Linked DNA regions of Homo sapiens: region 1 is linked to region 2. The links are contacts of gene promoters, found by promoter capture Hi-C in blood cells and fetal thymus (Javierre and others, 2016). All regions are on one chromosome and are shown on one strand. Each heading gives the region's core, a stretch centred on a gene start or on the middle of the fragment in contact. The rest is flanking DNA. Distances are from core to core; before and after follow the strand shown. Region 1 has its middle 410 kb from the start of NAALADL2. Region 2 holds the start of NLGN1 (neuroligin 1).

The links. Contacts are between HindIII fragments. The CHiCAGO score rates a contact against its expected background, and 5 or more counts as called.
Region 1: a contact is called between a fragment that was not itself captured here and the fragment with the promoter of NLGN1 in region 2, in 1 of 17 cell types (endothelial precursors). The highest score is 5.2, in endothelial precursors.

Annotation. Positions count from the first base shown.
Region 1 is chr3:174,441,974-174,447,114 of GRCh38, reverse strand. It overlaps a transcript of NAALADL2 not described here. Among named protein-coding and RNA genes, the nearest start is that of NAALADL2, 410 kb to the left of the region's middle. The HindIII fragment of the contact is 954 bases long and covers 3,181-4,134 here.
Region 2 is chr3:173,395,721-173,401,505 of GRCh38, reverse strand. NLGN1 (neuroligin 1) reads right to left here and starts at 3,762. Exons shown (of 7, transcript NM_001365925.2): 1 at 3,443-3,762. RefSeq lists an enhancer at 4,994-5,493 and a silencer at 5,719-5,785. The HindIII fragment of the contact is 3,156 bases long and covers 2,150-5,305 here.

The DNA.
Region 1 (5,141 bases), core at 2,408-4,907, 1.0 Mb before region 2:
TCACATTGTCTTATCTCAACAAGTGCCAGTAACACAAGTATTTTCACACACATATAAAGGCAAGAGTAGGTTTCCTGCATAATTAGTAGCCATTTTACTTGAAGATACCTTGTTATTATTTTTAAAGTTTTCCAAAACTCTAGCAAAATTAAATGCAAAAAAGGGGTCCAGAACCACAAGGTTTCTTAAGGTTGCTCCTATCTTCATCTTCTCATCAGATCCCTCCATCCAAGAAGATAGGGAAAAAGGCTTTTATCACCTGAAGGTGATCAAAAATTTCAAGCTGGCTTCTACAACCAGCATTTCAAAAAAGTGTTATACTGCCCCAGAAGATGTTTACTTTGGTTTGAGTACTCTGAGAGTTCTATAACCATGCAGGAAATATGTTACAGGTTTGATTCCAAAAACATGAATCCCCCTGCCCCCAGGTGGAGACTAGGATACAGGGCTTGTTAGAACTGGATGCCCCAAGAAACTGTCAAATTACTGAGTACCATATTAAACTGAAATGAAAATACACACATACACACACACATACTATTTAAAGAGATAGCATGATCACTTAGGGATGCATTATTTGAAGTGACTTTATCACCAATGATAATTGTACTTGATGAACAGGAGTACAAAAGCACAGACTATGCAAAGTATAAGGTTTGACCAATATAATAGCTAAAATCCTAAAACTAAAGAATTTCATGAGTAATTTTATATACCAAGATTGTAAAAGAGCAAAAAGCCATTTGTACTACTTTAAAAATTCACATGTGATATTATATACAAAGAATATAAGTTTGAAAGTATGAAAGTTTCACTTTCTTTTAAAGGATTCATAGCACTTCTGAAGTTTTTCATGACTGACCATCTAAAAATTAAAATATCTCTACTATATTCCTATCAAATTGTACCTTGGTAATTAATACCCAGAGCATAAATTCCCAATATGATGAAAGTCTAATTTTTTAGAAACCACATTTATAAACAAGCAGTTAGGGAAAATTCATGCTGAGCTCAAAATATGAGGTTTCTGGGCAAGATAAATCACCTTTCTTATCTGAACTGCTCAGATCAAAATGTCAAAACAATTAAATTACAATTTTGTCTGACATCAATATCCCATGCAACAGTGCAAAACAGAAAACCTTGATTTCAGGAATACTGTTTGCTTTTAACTGGCAAACAAATTAAGCAATGAATCAAATTTTGTTTGGTAAAACAAACAAAAAATTAGGCACAATGCAGGTCAGAGCAGATCAGAGAGGTCAAGGACTTCATCAAGACTCACTTCTCATATAATCGCATGTTTTTTGGCTCAAAGGGAAAAAATATCTATTCTGTTACACAAATAGAAAACACACAAACATAAGGTCATATATTTTACTCCTATATACCAAATATCACTATAGATTTTAATAAACCACATATAAATCACATCAACTTTATAGTTACATCATATGTGCATGCCGACATCTAATAGTTATATATGTGTGAGGAAAGAGAGGTAGAAGGGGAGCTTAATTTTTCCCTTAACAAACCTAGTTCTCCTGTATAGCTGTCTCATCTATTTCTTTGAATGTACCACGTAAAAAACTATACAATCAAAATATTTTTGAACTGTAGGAAGCCTTAAAAATGATCTTGAGCTGCCTCCTCATTTTTCAGTAAAAAACTGAAGGCCAGGAAAGACATGGGCACAAAACTACCTGGGGACATAACTGGGACTATAATTATAGGCCCCTAACTCCTAATCTTTTGTATGAATTATGAAATAGACTAATGAGACGTACTCCTGAATATACTGGGGTTCATTATACTATTCTACCTTTGCGTGTCTGATAATTTACATAATAAAAGAAATATGTTTGGAAACCTAACAACCTAAAAGCATTCAGTACTCTTCATAAGGCATTTATCAATTGTATTGCAATATTTACATATATTCCCTTCTCCTCACTCTACTAAAAATGGTAAATTGAGGGCAGAGATGATGTCATTTACATAGTGGTTATCACCATCCCCTGCCAAGACTTTACGCAGAACCCTGTTTTATAGTAAGAATTCAAGAAACAAATGGTCCCTAAATAACTGAAAAAAAAAAAAAAATCTCAAACAAGGTTCCATTTCCAACTCTATCAATTCTCTCCATCTTGTCAAACTGCTCAATATCTATGAGTAATGTTGTCAAAATTCTACCATACATCTACAACCTATGTTGCCAATCCAGTCTTTTTCACATCATTTTCAAATGATATTTGTTGCCAATCGCTGTTTTTCACATTTTCAAAATCCAATCTGAAATCTAATCCTAACTAACATCTCTTCCAAGATTTAATACCACCATTCTATAATTAGACTGACCACTGGTGACAACACTGTTCTCCATTTGATCACACTTGGTACTTAAACAGAAAAGAGTTTGTTTGATAATAACGGTAATATTCTTAGAACGTTACTGTAGTTATAAGCTCCACGGGAGGTGAGACTCAATGTTGCTAACTTCCTCATCAGATCCCTTCTCAGGGATTTCATCATATGATTTAGCTTGCCTTATTTCCTCCTTTTCCCCTTTTATCTTGTAATCTCCACTTTCTCTTTAAGTCTTCTCCTAAGCAAAGCTCAAGGCAGAAATCCCCCTTCTGTCCTCAACAATGCACAAAGTTTTCTGTTTCAAGCAATTCTTAGAATCTCAAAGTATTCTTTCATCAAATATTCCTGACCAAATGGAAAAAATGGTAATGATTCCTACAAATTTCTCATGTACCACACCTGGATCTCATAAACAATGAGAAAAGAGAAGGGATCCAAATAGAACATCCACATTCCCCACCTCCATCTGTGCCCCCACACTTTTCCTTCTCTCATTTGTTCTAGGTAAATAGCTCATAACCCTAGCAACAGATAGTCTCTCTTGTTGTATGCATGTATCCTTTCTCACCTCCTCGTGAACAGCATTCCCCTCTGTCTCCTGCATCATCAATTTTTTGTTCTCTATTGGCTCCTTCTCATTAGTATCACAACATGCCATTGTTTTGTACACTTTAAAAAACTCTCTTTACATCATCTGGTCCTACAACTAACGCTCCATTTCCTCCCTCCCTTTTCAATAAAAATATTCAAGTGATGTATACCATCACCTTCTTCAATGTCTTTCTACTCTGTCAAACACATTACAAACAAGCTTTCATGTCTACTTCCTCCATGAAAACTGGCAACATCATGGTCATCAATGATTTCCTTTGCTAGATTAATTCTCAATCCTCATCTTTAAAACAACTGATCAGCCCTCTACTTCTTGAAACACTTCCAGGATTCCATATTCTCCTGCTTTCCCTTTTACATGGAATGCAGCTCTTTTTCAGACTCCTTTTTGGTTTCTCCTCATCTCATAATGCTGACGTACACCATTATGTACCAGATTTTATGACGTAAAGTCTGGTCCCTGGTCATCTTCAATATTCTAAACTCACACACTTTTGATGCATTCAATCTCTTCGCTTTTACAACCCGCTATATGATGAAGAGTCCTAAATGTATGCCATTAGCTTGGTCTTCCAGCTAACTGCATGCTTGACATTTCCATTTGGATATCTAAAACCCATCTAACACCTAACATATCCAAATCCAGATTCTTAATCCCAATTACATCTTCTTCCTGTTCTTTCCAATCTCAGTTAACAGAAACTCTTATCTTTCCAGTTGCTTAGGCAATTACATTCTCCTTAATTTCTTTTGCTCTCACATTCCATATCCTATCTCTCAGCAAACCCTGAGGAATACACCCTCAAAATATATATACAGAATATGAACTACTCACCACTTCCACTGCTATCATCCGGGTCTAAGCCACCATGATCTGTCACATAAATTATGATAGCCTAACTGTTATCCCTGCTTCTATTCTTGCTTTCTTCAGTCTGTTCTCAATACAGTAGGCAGAGTAATGGTATCAAACAGATGTGTTAGATCATGTCATTCCTCTTGTCAAAAGGCTCCAATGGCCTCCAAATGGCTTCAAGTAAAGGTTATCATTACAATAGCTTAGCAGACCATGTAGTACTATCTGGCCCCTATGACATTTAAAATCCCATATCCTACTTCTCCTCTATCCTCCATTCCACTTCAGCTACACAAGCTTCTTTGCTGATCCCTGAACACAGCAATGTGCCCGGCCTCTGCACTTGCTATTTCTCTGCGCCCGGAAACTCTTGCCCCAAATATATGGCTTACTCCCTCAACTGCTTCAAGTCTACTGAAATGTCACCTTCTCCAGAGGACTTCCGGTAAAATCCTATTTTAAATTACTAAACACACACTCTTTTTCCTGCTTTATGTAATAAGTCCATAGCACTTATTACGGTTTCACCTTATATTTTTCTTATGTACTACATATACTGTCTCCCTCCACTAGAATGTATATTCCAAGAAGCCAGAAGTTTCTTCTTTGCTTTATTCCAGTGTCAAGAACACTGCTTGGCACGCAGTAAGCAATCAACAAACAATTGTTGACTAATAAGTATTGAGTGTTCTACCTAAATATAATAATGCTTTATGTAAGCAATTAATAAATTACATTTCATTCTTGTTAGTCGTCCTACATTAAAGGTCTTTAATACTCTTTTTATGTTATCAGGAATGCATTACGTCATCCTTATTAAGAGGAGTTACTTTTACATTTCCCATAAGTCTTGAGATCAGACATTACTGCCGATTGTAAAGGAGAAAAAAAATCTCTAAAAAATTAAAGGTGAAAGTATTGTTAAAATAATTCCCCTTTCCATTAAGAATTCTTGGGGTGTGGGAAAAAATGGTGAAAATCGTACTTAAAATACCAAGAATCCAGTTTTAAACCCAACTCTTCCTTTTAAGCTTTTCCTCCCCCATTCTCCCAGAGCACTTCGTAGGATTAAGCCAGTGCTCACCATGGTCCCTTCTCCTGAGGACAGGAACGGAATCTCTTCTCTGTTAACCTGTCACCAGTCAGCACAGAATCTAACTCACAGATGACAAAGAACCGTTACCAAATCGAACTCACTGGAGTGGATACTACAGGATCCTATGACATAATTTTTAATGTTTGTCAAGATGTATTCCTTCAACAGAAGCAACACCATTATCTTAAGGTTCTCGGGTGGTTAAAAAAA
Region 2 (5,785 bases), core at 2,513-5,012:
TCCTCTTCCTTCTTCTTATTTGTTTTTTAAATCTTATCATGTGTCCTCTACCACTTATTAAGCAAAAAATCAAAAAGATCCTCGCCACCACCATAATGCAGGGAAAAAAACAAAAAACAAAACAAAACAAAAAAAAACAGGGGTAGGGAAGAGTAGGAAACAGAGAATTTCCTTCCTTCTGATCTCAGAGCAAAACTTCTGAGCCTGGGACAATCTGACCTCTTAGAGACATTTGGCAATGTCTGGAGATACTTGGATAGTCATGATGAGGTGGGGGTGGGGTGCACTACCAGCATCTGGTGGATAGAGGCCAAGGATGATGCTACACATCCCTATAATGTACAGTACACTCCCCCATAACAAAGACAAATAATTATCCAGCCCACAATGACAACAGTGTCAAAGCTGAGAAACCCTGAGGTAGAATACTGTTATCTTCTTCTCCCCCATTTTGGGCCCCAAAGACAGACACGAGTTTGGAGGCACATCAGTGACCTTGTGCCCATGAGAAGAAAGGTTTCGAGATAATAGAAGAAGCCTGATAAAATGCTTAAGCAACTCTCTTCTCCTGACTTTTTATTATGTGAGATAAATAAAGCTTTATTTGCTTAATCCACGGTTAGCCAAGTTTTCTGTTACTTCATAGCCAAATATATTTATAAATAATACATTTACTATTCATTTATGGTAGACTCTATGTTCAGACATAAAGGTAAGCTATCATTTCCGAATGACATGATAAATCAGGCATGTCTTTTGATCTCTGGCAATTCACTGTGCAGTGAGAAAGCCAACCATTAGAAGTGTGAAAGGTGGGCTACTCCCAGTATAAATACTGTGTTGTGGGAGCTCAGAGTAAGGGTACAGGAAGGAAGCATCATGATGAAGGAAAGACCACCCAAGGAACTAAAATGTTTTTCTGTCCTATCATTGGTGTATATTTGGTGGGGTGGGGTAGAGGGGCAGGGAATGGATCAATGAAGAAAGATTAGCATAAGCAAACCACAAAATCCTAAAATGGTATGTAGTGTTGGGGAAAATAGTAATTAAGAGTCTTGTGAATGGACTAAAGAGTGAATTCAGAAGGGGGGCCAGGAGGACAGTGTTTTAATCTACATAAGGAGGTTTAAGAATGAATTGTGAAAAGCATTGAGTGGCATTAGGGTTGTGGACTTTGGCATGTAATAATCTATAAGGAGCCACTGGCCAATGTTAATAAGATCATACCTATATTTCAGAAATAATAATAATAATATTAAGTCTAGAAGACTGGACTTTGGTGATTTCATTTACAGATAATTAAAACATAACTGAAAAATCATATCTTCCTATTGACAATCCAGTAAGATGGAAACCGACTGCAAACTTCACTTCAAAAACTAAGCCTTTAAAATGTGGCAAAGGTATATGTTACACAGCTGCAGTTTCTAATACTACTGTTACTTTTAACTGTGTTTTGCTTACAAAAACTACAAATTAGTATTTGTTAGGTAATTTGTGAAATAACTCCTTTGTGTAAAAATAATAAAGAATTATCAAGATAAACCATTACTATGTTAAAAACTGTTTCAATACATGAAAACCCAGAGAGATACGTCACTCAAAGCTATATCTGTATTAATATTGTCTCACAAAAAGTTGTCAATAGCATTAAAATGTATGTGAAAAATTTTATAAAAAACTCAGATCTCAGATTTATAACTGTATTTTATAGTTCTAGCTACTTAATTATCCTATAAAGAAAACCAGAAACAGCTAGTTTAATGTAATTTGAAGGGATATGTAGATCTTGGCACTGGATAACCATGTGAAAATAGTAAAAGCAGAATAAAATATAAGAATTTCAGAGTTGGAAGAGACTTTGGAGAGTGATCCAAGAAAGTCATCCAGGAATGCATAGGGTCATCAGGCCTTCCAACACCCTGCAAATGAAACCAATGGAGTTCTCAGCCTACCTTCTTTAAGTGTATATTTCACCTTCAACTTCAAAGCCATTCAAACATTTACATTTGAAAATATGTTATTACTAAATGTAAGTGGAAAATTTCACAAAATAAAACTATACTGAGGGAATAAAGAAAAGATTGACAGCAAGTACTTTGGGGGTGGAAGAAGGGAGACAATGGGAAGGACGGGAACTAAAGAAGCTTTTCTTACTCCACACTACTGGAACTCTAGTAGAATCTGCTGAAAGATTGACTCCCTCAATTTCTGCTTATGTTAAGAGGATTGGGAAGACTAACTGCAGAATAGCAGGCTTACAGAAAACAGTTACTTCTTTTAATCAAACCATGTAATCAGAAGGCCTGAGTAATGATTAACTTCCACTTTCTCTGTGAATCACTCAATCACTCTGCAGTGCAAGTAGACTTAGATTCATTCTCTGCCAAAGGCACAGTAAATTTAATGTTTTTGCATTTAACATTTAATATTTTAAATATATGAATGGCCCTTGCTTCTGAGCTCATTTCAAAAACCTTGTGTTCTGCTAGGTTACAATGGCTGATAGAAATGCTGAGACATTTTATAGGTTTTACACTCAAACATAGGTACACATACCCTTTCTCAGTGACATTTTAATATCTATGATCCTATTAATAATTGAGCACAATTAATGGTGAGAAATGCATTAAGACCCTGTAATTTTCATGTACAGCATGACAACTCAATTGACTTAAGCAAAAATAGTCTACCGGAGTTTGAGTATAAAAAGAGGGAAAATGAGTATATTAACTACCTGTAAAAATGCAGAGTAACAGATACTGGGTTAACTATACGAATTCACGTTTCCCAAGTGTTATATGTATCACTATGGCCCTGGAAATGCAAAAAGAAATAGTACCTTTGTGGAGGCCAACTGTTCATGATTTAGAATTATCACAAATGAATCAAATATTGGACATGTAATATCCCTCATCTCTATAACACACTAACAACCTCCTCTGGAAGAAATTATTCCCAATGCAAAATCTCAACCTAAATAATTTTAAATTCAGGTGGTTTTTCATTTCTACTCACAAGGCATTGTGTTGAGGCGGGCAGGAGTCGGTGGAGAACGGTTTAAATGTTTGGAATACCTTCTCTTCCCAGGAGAGTTTATTGCCCAATAATGCATAATATATTAGTTGCTCAACGCGGGGGATCTAGGGAGTGACATCTTGACTGGAAACACACAGATCTGAAAACCACCTCTCAGGAAACGTTGTGGGGAAGAAGAGCAACTTTCTTATCCCTGTCAAACTAACCGGCGGAACCAACCCCAGAACTAGCCGGAGGGCCTGGGGAGAGCAGAAGGCTGAAAGCAGCTCCTCTGCGCTCCGCCGAGGGTTCAGGCAAGGGTTTTCTTCTGGAGGCGGCATTGTTCCTCCATCTGCTCAGCCTCCGTATTTCGCCAGGAAACCCTCCCCGCTTTCTCGTAATCTGTTCCTTATTTCTTTTGTACCTCTCAGCCGATTTCCATGCTCTTGGTCTCTGTGGTCCCAGGGCACAGCTCTAGGGTGAAGAGCTGCAGTGACTGGGGCGCCGCTCTAAGGCTTTGGAGGCGACTGCACTCCGCCCGGGCTCTGGCAGCGTGAGCGCCGCACAGTCGCTCGCTCCCTTCTCTCCGGTCTCTCCGGCTCGGACGGGCTCTCCCGGCCTCTCATCACCCACTCCGACTCGCCTTTCCTGCCGTGTCTCCCCACGCCAGCTCCGCGCGCTCGGCGCTGGCCGCCCGGGCGCGCTCTCCGCGCCGCCGCCTGATCCTCGGCTTACAGCCGCGGCGCTCCCCCGCCCGCCCACAGGCCGGGACTCCGAATTGAAGGGTCAACCCTCCGCGGGGAGGCGGGGAGGAGCGGCGAGGAGAGCTGGGGCAAGTGGGGAGCCGCGGGTGGGGGGACTGACGGGGGAACGGGAGAGTGAGGCCAAGAAGAAAGAAGATGCATCTGCTCCGAAGACGCCAATGAAGAAAGGACAGAGGGGGCAGGAGTGGAGTGGGGGAGAGAACGCCCACCAGGAGGGTGGGCAAAACGGGCAATTTACAAACTGCCGGGGCTGGAGATGCCGCGCGGAGGAGGAAAGAGGTTAGCGGCACAGAAGAAGAAATGAGGGGAAGTTCCCACATCTCCCCAAAAGGTCACGTTTGAAAACCGTGTCCCTTGAACGGGAGTTAAACAAGCGACTGGCCATGGTGTAAAAGGTGGATTTAAAAGGAAATTTAGTGTCATGTACTTATTTAGACACGGCTTCGTCTCGCTCAACTCTGGCAAATTACCCTCCAAGTAAAATGTATTGGTTTTATGCAGAAACGGAAGGCGAATCTCCTCCACTGTGGACTCCTCCTGAGATTGGTTTGTTTGCTGGTTATCTTTCTTTTTAAATGAAAAAAAGCGTTTGGGAGCTTCCATGAACCCCAACGCTTAAAAAAAACCACCCAGTTTATTAAAGTTCATTATTTTTTATTGCTTTTATTTTCATCAGAGGATAGGGTGAGGGACTGGCATCTTCAGATGTTTAAAACACTTATTTAGGTAGCATTATTTTTTATAAAGGACACGATTTCCTAAAACCGCCAGAAAGGCTATTGGAAAACTCAGCTACTAGCCTGGGAAAGAGAGACGCATTTAAACTCAAATAGACGATTATACCTCCAGCACCCCCCACCCCCACCCCAATGGGATTGGAAAAGGGTTGAGTTTACAGAAGAGAGAGAGCAGAGAAGGGTGGGTGGAAGGTGGGGAAGGCGAAGGAGAGGCAGGGAATAGGAAGTTCTCGGCAATCCCCGGGATTAAGGTAAACGCCGGAGCTCGGCGGACGCAGGAAGCTCCCTTACCTTTCTCTCTAAGCCCCGTTTGCACCTGATCTGCAACCATAAATACTTCGTGGTGCTTAGTGTGCAGCCAAACGATGGCCAAATGTTAAACAATTCTTCACGCTCCCTCCCCCTTTTAAAAAACAGGCTCAAAAGAATGTTAATAGTGTTCTTGTTATCCATCGGCTCCAAAACATTCCGTTTCGTGGGGAGGAGAGACGAAAACCAGGCCCTTGGGCACGCGTATATGTATTTATATATTATGCGGTCGGTATATAAACATATATACGTTTCCTGCATGTAAATCCAAAATGAAAAGCACCACAGATGCTTCTGTAAACGGGAGGGGACAGCGAAGAGCAAAACTTGGCAAGCCAAATGTATCCAGAGATTTCGTACCAGGAGCCACCTGCTTCAATATGCAGAATTTCCGAGAAGATTTAGAGGGAGAAGGAAAAAAATTAAAAATAAAATACCCAAAACACACACTTGAAACTGGAAGACACCTATGAAGCTTGGAAATGGAGAGGATGAGAAGATCTCCCGGGGCTACAGATCCTCAGCTAAGTGAGCAATCGCCTCCGAAAATCATAGGCGGGGAGGTGGCTGCAGATGCGTCCCCTGCTCCGGTCCCCGCCGCCGCCGCCGCCGCCGCCACTGCTACCTGTAGACACGCACACACACACGTACACGCGCGCACACACACTGCCACCTTCTCTCTCTCCCTCTCCCCTCACTCCGTGGCGTTGTCGGGTGCAGGAGTCTGAATCAAGCCAGACCATCCTCCAGACCCAATCCTGCCCCCCTCAGAGCCAGGACTCCCTCCGCTGCCTCCCTCTCCCCGCCCGGTTTATTGCACAGCGTCCCCTCCCCTGCGCGCCCCTCCCGCCGGTCGGAGGCGCGATCTTGGTGGGGGTGGGCTTCGGGGGCGCGGGTCCGGCGGTGGCAGACTTGGTGCTGGTGATGGCCCCTCCCTTTACAAGTTCCGCCCTCCTC